Linked DNA regions of Homo sapiens: region 1 is linked to region 2. Evidence: promoter capture Hi-C in 16 types of primary human blood cells and fetal thymus (Javierre and others, 2016). All regions are on one chromosome and are shown on one strand. Each heading gives the region's core, a stretch centred on a gene start or on the middle of the fragment in contact. The rest is flanking DNA. Distances are from core to core; before and after follow the strand shown. Region 1 overlaps CFAP58 (cilia and flagella associated protein 58). Region 2 holds the start of SORCS3 (sortilin related VPS10 domain containing receptor 3).

What was found. Contacts are between HindIII fragments. The CHiCAGO score rates a contact against its expected background, and 5 or more counts as called.
Region 1: a contact is called between a fragment that was not itself captured here and the fragment with the promoter of SORCS3 in region 2, in 2 of 17 cell types (M2 macrophages and M1 macrophages). The highest score is 6.6, in M2 macrophages.

Annotation. Positions count from the first base shown.
Region 1 is chr10:104,408,814-104,412,226 of GRCh38, forward strand. The region is part of intron 15 of CFAP58 (cilia and flagella associated protein 58); the gene reads left to right. Among named protein-coding and RNA genes, the nearest start is that of CFAP58, 57 kb to the left of the region's middle. The HindIII fragment of the contact is 5,900 bases long and covers 1-3,413 here.
Region 2 is chr10:104,639,525-104,642,974 of GRCh38, forward strand. SORCS3 (sortilin related VPS10 domain containing receptor 3) reads left to right here and starts at 1,766. Exons shown (of 27, transcript NM_014978.3): 1 at 1,766-2,430. The coding sequence starts at 1,804. The HindIII fragment of the contact is 3,039 bases long and covers 1-2,173 here.

The DNA.
Region 1 (3,413 bases), core at 34-2,533, 230 kb before region 2:
TAGGGTTGGGTGCAGTGGATCATGCCTATAATCCCAGCGCGTTGGGAGGCCAAGTGGGGGTGGATTGCTTGAGCTCAGGAGTTTGAGACCAGCCTAGATAACATGGCAAAACCTTATCTCTACAAAGAATACAAATATTAGCCAGGCGTGGGGGCGTGCACGTTTAGTCCCCACTACTCAGGAGGCTGAGGTGGGAGAATTGCTTGAGCCCATGAATTCGAGGCTGTGGTGAGCTGTGATTGTGCCACTGCACTTCAGCCTAGGTGACAGTGTGAGACCCCGTCTCATAAAAAAAAAAATTATTTAGTTCCTTTCCACAGGTTTTGATATGGGGAATTTTCATTTAGTCCTAAATGTTGTATATTTTCAGAATTATTTCTCCTTTGACAGTAAGTCTTAATAAATATTCACTATTTCTCCTAATCATAATTAGGAGATATTTTATAATATTTTAGGATAATTAAAAGTGTATTTTAAATTTTCCAAATATATATGTATTTAAGTTATCTTTTACTTACTGATTGGTCACTTTTCTGCATTGTTGTCTGTATTATACAGATTCTTTGGAATTTGTTGAACTTGATTTGTGACCAACTAAGTGGTCAGTTTTTATACCTGACGCCTGCTGTTTGAAAAACATACATACTCTCTAAATGCTCTGGGTTCAGTGTTCTCTGTTTGTTCGTTAGATCAACCTTGTTAATTGTATTGTCCACATCTGTACTTTTCCTAATTTTCTGTCTGCTTAATCACTGAAAAAAGTTTGGAGATTTGTCTTATTTCTCCTTCTCTCTGACATTTTTCGCTTTAAGAACATTTTAGATCATGATAAGGTGAGTATAAGATTATAATTTTTATTTCTTCCTGCTTGAATTGCTCCTTTCGTATTATGTAAGAACTCTCGTAATAATATTTTTACTTACAAATTTGCCTAGTATTAACATAGCTCAATCAGCTGGATTTTGAAAAGTAGTTTTCCTATATTTTTACTTTTAAACTTTTGGTGTCTTTGTACTTTAGGAATATCTCTTGTAATTAAAAAAAAATCTTATCTTTGTGTTTAGTTTGTTTATTGATAATTTTAGGTTTATTTCTACCTTCTTATTTTCCCTGATTTTTTGTAATGCTCAAAAAAATTCTATCAGACTGAGTTTTCTTTATGTTCTGTTTTCCTGTTTACCAGTCTTCCCACTAACCATTACTACCTATTCCCTTTTTACAGTTTTTCTTTTACTCAACAGTTACCACCACTCAGTATAATATTCTCTCTCTGTCTCTGATTCCCTTAAATACATTATCTTAATTCTTTGTTTTTCTCTTTCATAGATTCCCTTAAAAATTCACCATGCATAGTTGACATCAAATCTAAAGTCTAAAGTTGATCAATATCTTTCTCCTTCTTACAAACAGTGTAAGGATTTGGAATGCTTTAACTGCAGCTACCCTGCTGTTTCCAAAATCAGCCATCACCACTATTATGTTATAGAGTCAATTTGTTAAGATTTACCAACATGTTTACCAGTTCTTTTGTTTTCTATTTCTACATATCTCCAATTCCTTACTTCTGGGTTCTGTCTCTTCCTTTTTGAAGTATATCCTTTCATAGTTCTTTAACCAATAGATTTTTCAATGGTTAACACTCTCCTTTGCTTGTCTAAAAATGTTTTTAATTTGGCCTTATTTGTAAATGATTAACTTGAAATGTTATTTCTATTAGCACTTTGAAGATGTTGGTCCTTTGTGTCCCCAGCTTCCAGTGATGTGACTGAGAAGTCTGCTGTACGTCTAATTGTTTCTGCTCCTTTTTAGGTGACCTGCCTTTTCTTCTGTTTGATAGTTAGATCTTCTCTTTGCCTTTGATGTTTCAGAGTTTCAGCACAACGCATTTGGGTATTAATTTAGTTTTGCTTACTATGTTCAGAACACACTCCATTTCCTGAATCTGAGGGTTCCTGTGTCTTCGAATAGTCTCTTCTTTAGTGTCTTTATTCACTCCTCCTGGAACTCTTATTAGAAGTACGTTGGGTTTTCTTATTCTTTTTTCCTATTTACTGACCTAGTTGATGTTTTTCTTCTCTTTAACTCTTTGTTACATTTTCTTAGCTTTATCTCTATTTATTTATTTATTCATTTATTTATTTTTTGAGATGGAGTCTCACTGTGTCACCCAGGCTGGAATGCAGTGGTGCAATCTTGGCGCACTGCAACCTCCGCTTCCCAGGTTCAAGCGATTCTCCTGCCTCAGCCTCCTGAGTAGCTGGGATTACAGGCATCCACCACAACGCCCAGCTAATTTTTGTATTTTTAGTAGAGACGGGGTTTCATCCTGTTGGCCAGGCTGGTCTCGAACTCCTGACCTCAAGTGATCTGCTGGCCTTGGCCTCCCAAAGTGTTAATCTTAATCTTCTTGTTCACCAGTTCTTTCAGTGTGCTTATCTGCTAATAGTCAATCCACTGAGATTTTATTTTCAATTATTTTATTTTTATTTTATAGAGACTCTTTTTCACATATGCCTGGTTTTTGTTGATAGTTTCTTGATCTTTTCTCATGTTTTACATCCTTCCTTTATGTCCCCAATTAATTCAAAAATTTATTTTATAGTCTTAATCTGAGTGTTCTATTATTGAAGTTCTCGAGGGGTTTTCCTGTTTGTTGTGACTGCTGACTTTCACTCATGGTGGATTTTTCTTTTTGTGTTTTGTGATTTTGGATTGTGAACTCATTTTCAGAAAGCCTTTATTTGGGGACTTGGGAATGGTTCAGGTTAAGGGTATGTCCATTCATTTGTTTCTGCCAGGTGCCTTAGAAGGTATCATTTGCTTAGAATAATTTTTTTTTAATGTTAAATTCTCACTTTGGGTTTCTTGGACTACTTGGCTAACATATACTAGAACCTCAAACTCTTGTGACAGAAGATGAATGGATACAAATTCTTAGGGAAGCAACTTTTTTTTTTTTCCCCCACCCAGAGCCCAGGAGAGATAGTTAGGTTTCCTTGTGGTCTTCCTGTCCCAGTGGGTAGATTTCTATTGTATCTTTTTGCCAAGGGTGAAACTTTTAAAAGTCACTAACTTTATGCTGAGGAATCTTAGTACTAACACCCACTTCACACAGGCCCAGCACCTTATCCTTTGCCTTCTTGTGGCCACTAAAATCCAGGCCCTTTGTTCAGCTATCCCTCAGGGGAGAGCTGCAATATATATCTATTCACTGTTCTAACATGCAGTTCAGGCTTTGATTTTGACACTTGAGCAAACTAATTGAAAATTCTGTTTTGTGATTAAAACTCATGCTGAATTGTTTTACTCAGCATGTCTAATGCTTTGTGGACATTAGTTTTCATGTTATTTAGTCTGACATATTGCCATAAACAGAAATCTCTTATTTGCTTGACTCACTAGTTTCTTCATCC
Region 2 (3,450 bases), core at 516-3,015:
TTTAACCATCTTCTAGAGAGGAGGAACTCTATCTACTCCCGAAGGGGAGGAGCAGGGCTGGAGGCTGTCTCTCTCTCCCTAAGCCTCCTCCCTCCTGCCTCCTCCTTTCTTAATAGCTCCTCCTCTAGCTCCTCTAGTCTCAGACTTTTCAACCCCTAGAATCCCAGGGGCTTCTCGGAGGCGGCGAGCTACACCACATGTCCTGGGGCCTGTAAACCGCAGCTCGAGGTCGTCTGTGGGTTTAGCTCATTTCCCTTCAGCCCACCTGAAGTCTCCTTCTTCCTACGGTCACGAAGGATCTCAGCTGCACCAAGCGCGCAGGCTACACTCCTGCAGTAGCGGATTGGGGACCAGATAAGCCCACGCGGCTCCCGCCTGAGTACCCTCTTAACTGGCGGCCGACACTTTGAAACAATTGAGTCCGTTCAGAAACGGACTGGGGAGAGTGAGGGCACGACCTCAAAATCCTAGGCAGCAAAATGAGGTCTGGATCCTCCCTGGAAGAACAGACATCTCGACTACTCTCTCGCCCCACCTCTGGCCGGGAGGTCGGGGCAAGGAGAATCCCTCAACCGAGAAGATCTGGCAAGTCCCCGATCCCACCGGGGCCTTCCGCCTCTTTTCCCTCATCCCCTAGGAGGCTTTATCAGGTTCTAACCGCTTGTAGTGGGGGCCGTGGGTGCTCGGGGCGCCAAGAGGAGGGGGCTGCCGAGAGCGGCCTGCCTAGTTCTCAGCATTGCCTCTTTGACCACTCGCAGGCTCCTGGAAATGCAAACACAGCCCGTGCGTGATCCGCACGCGACCAAAAGCCGAGCGCACACCTCCCGCCCCCGCCCCACTTGCCATCGCTCACACTAACGTGCACACATGCTCGTGCAAACGCGCACGCACGGAACCGCGCGCCCCCTCACACCCAGCCGCGCTCCCGGCCCGGCTCAGCCAGGTGCCCCCACGCGGCAGCGCCCGGTCTGCCCGCCGGCCCCCTGCGAACCCCTCGCCTCACGCCCGCCTGCCTGCGCGCACGCACGCGCACGCACGCATTCCCCACGCCCCCGCGCGGGGGCGCAGGCCTTGGGTGGCGGGGTTTGGCCGGGAGCCGGCCGGGCCAGGGAGCGGCGAGCAGAGTCCAGGGTGCATCCCGCGCTTGGCTTCCGTGCGCAGCCTCCCCGCGCGGAGGCACCTGGCTCCCTCTCGGCTCTAGAACGCGAACAGTTGGCGTTGAGCACACAACTCCTCCTCCTTCTCCCCCGAGACCCCTGTACCCTCCCCGCGCGCCATCTCCCGCCCCTCATAACAGGCCCGAAGAGTAAACCCCCAAACGCGTCCAGAAGCGGCTCCCAACTCTTCGCCGGGAGCACGTTGGAGGCTGGATTTCGGAGAGACTCGGGATTGGGGTCTATTGCCGGCCCCTCCTGGATCCGGCTTGATTTTCATATTTTAAGAAGATTTTCTTATTACCTTTGATTACTCCTTTTTACCAAATTTCTGGAGGAGCTCAGTGGGGAGGATTGGGGGGAATCTGATTTTAAGAAAGAAAGCACCGAAGGGGCAATTATTAATTTTCCTCGGGTTTGGAATCACCCTCTGGACAAGAGAACGGGCGAGCGGGAGCTAGGAGGGAAGAGTGGAGAGGACCGGCGAGGCGCGCCAGCCGGAGCCACCTCCTTCCCGGCCGCCCCCTCCCCACTCCCCCTACACACACACGCTCGCTCGCTCGCCGGCGCGCGCACACCCCCCGCGCCGGACCCGCACCTCGGCGGGCGCCACACACTCGGCAGCCCGAGCCGCGGTAGCCGCAGCGGGATGGAGGCGGCGCGCACGGAGCGCCCCGCAGGCAGGCCGGGGGCGCCGCTTGTCCGGACGGGGCTCCTACTCTTGTCGACGTGGGTCCTGGCCGGCGCCGAGATCACTTGGGACGCGACAGGCGGTCCCGGACGCCCGGCGGCCCCGGCTTCGCGGCCACCGGCGTTGTCTCCACTCTCGCCGCGGGCAGTGGCCAGCCAGTGGCCGGAGGAGCTGGCGTCGGCGCGGAGAGCCGCCGTGCTGGGGCGCCGGGCCGGACCAGAGCTGCTGCCCCAGCAGGGCGGCGGCAGAGGCGGTGAGATGCAGGTGGAAGCCGGAGGGACATCACCGGCAGGCGAGCGGCGGGGCCGGGGCATCCCAGCTCCTGCCAAGCTTGGCGGCGCGAGGAGGAGTCGCCGGGCGCAGCCCCCAATCACCCAGGAACGCGGGGACGCCTGGGCCACTGCTCCGGCCGATGGTTCCAGAGGAAGCCGTCCCCTTGCTAAGGGTTCCCGGGAGGAGGTGAAGGCGCCGCGGGCTGGGGGGTCGGCGGCTGAAGACCTCCGGCTGCCCAGCACCTCCTTCGCGCTGACCGGGGACTCGGCCCACAACCAAGCCATGGTGCACTGGTCGGGACACAACAGCAGCGTGAGTACCCACCCGGCGGCGGGTCCGCCTGTTTCCTGACACCGAAGGGGAATGGGGGGGTGGGTGGGAGCGAGGGACAGATAGTTGCTCGGGGGTCGAGGCGGGGGACGCCTCGACTTTTCGAGATAACAGGTTTGTCCGATTCCCCCCACGCCCCCAACAGGTTAACGGAGTTTGTTGTTAGACGCTGTGTGTGTTTGTTTACTGGAGACCCTAGGCTTCGGCCGCCGGGAGGGGAGTGGAGGAAGGGGCTTCTTAAAGATGAGTGGGGGAGGGATCTGTGCTCACTTTCTCCAATACTTGGCTTGGAGGGTCAGTTTTCCTGTTTGCGGGGTGCTTGAATTCTTGGATGAGAAAAAGGGCTGACTTGGGGCGGGAGCCGCTGAACAGACCGATTCCTGCGGCTGCCGGGCTCCCCCTACCCCCACCCCACCCCCACCCCCCCTCCCGTCACGCGAAAGGGAACCCGGAAGGCCATTCGGACTCCCAGCCTCCTGCTCGCCTCGGGGTCGCTGCTATCCGCTCCAGGCGCGCAGTCCTCCAGCCCAAGAGGGAGGCTCGGCCAAGTCGGCCCCCAGCCTTGGCCTTCAGGTAACCCCGGTTCCTCCTTCAAAGTCCAGGGAGCGGCCCTGGAAAGCCGTAGCAGAGGCCGTAAAAAAAAGTTTAAAGCGTGAAGCGAAATTCCACACCCATCCAGCGCTCATGCCACACCGCTCGCCCTCACGCACGCACAGGCACACGGAAGTCGCTCAGCAGAAAACTCTCGACTTCACCATTGCGTCCTGCGCCACAAACGGCTCCCTGAGCGGAGTTGGGTGCCTGAGCTTCCTGCACACCTCTCCACCCGCTTTTCCCCGCCACCGGGTTCTCCTGGACAAGGATGTACCGAGAGGTGGCGTCGTTGAGCCCGGTCTGGCCTACTCCGGCATTCCGAACTGGGCGCCCGACTGAGCATCGCGCCTGCCTGGCAGCTGCAGCGGCCCGCAGCGCGTGCCCGGAGGGGCTCCCCCTACCTCGCCG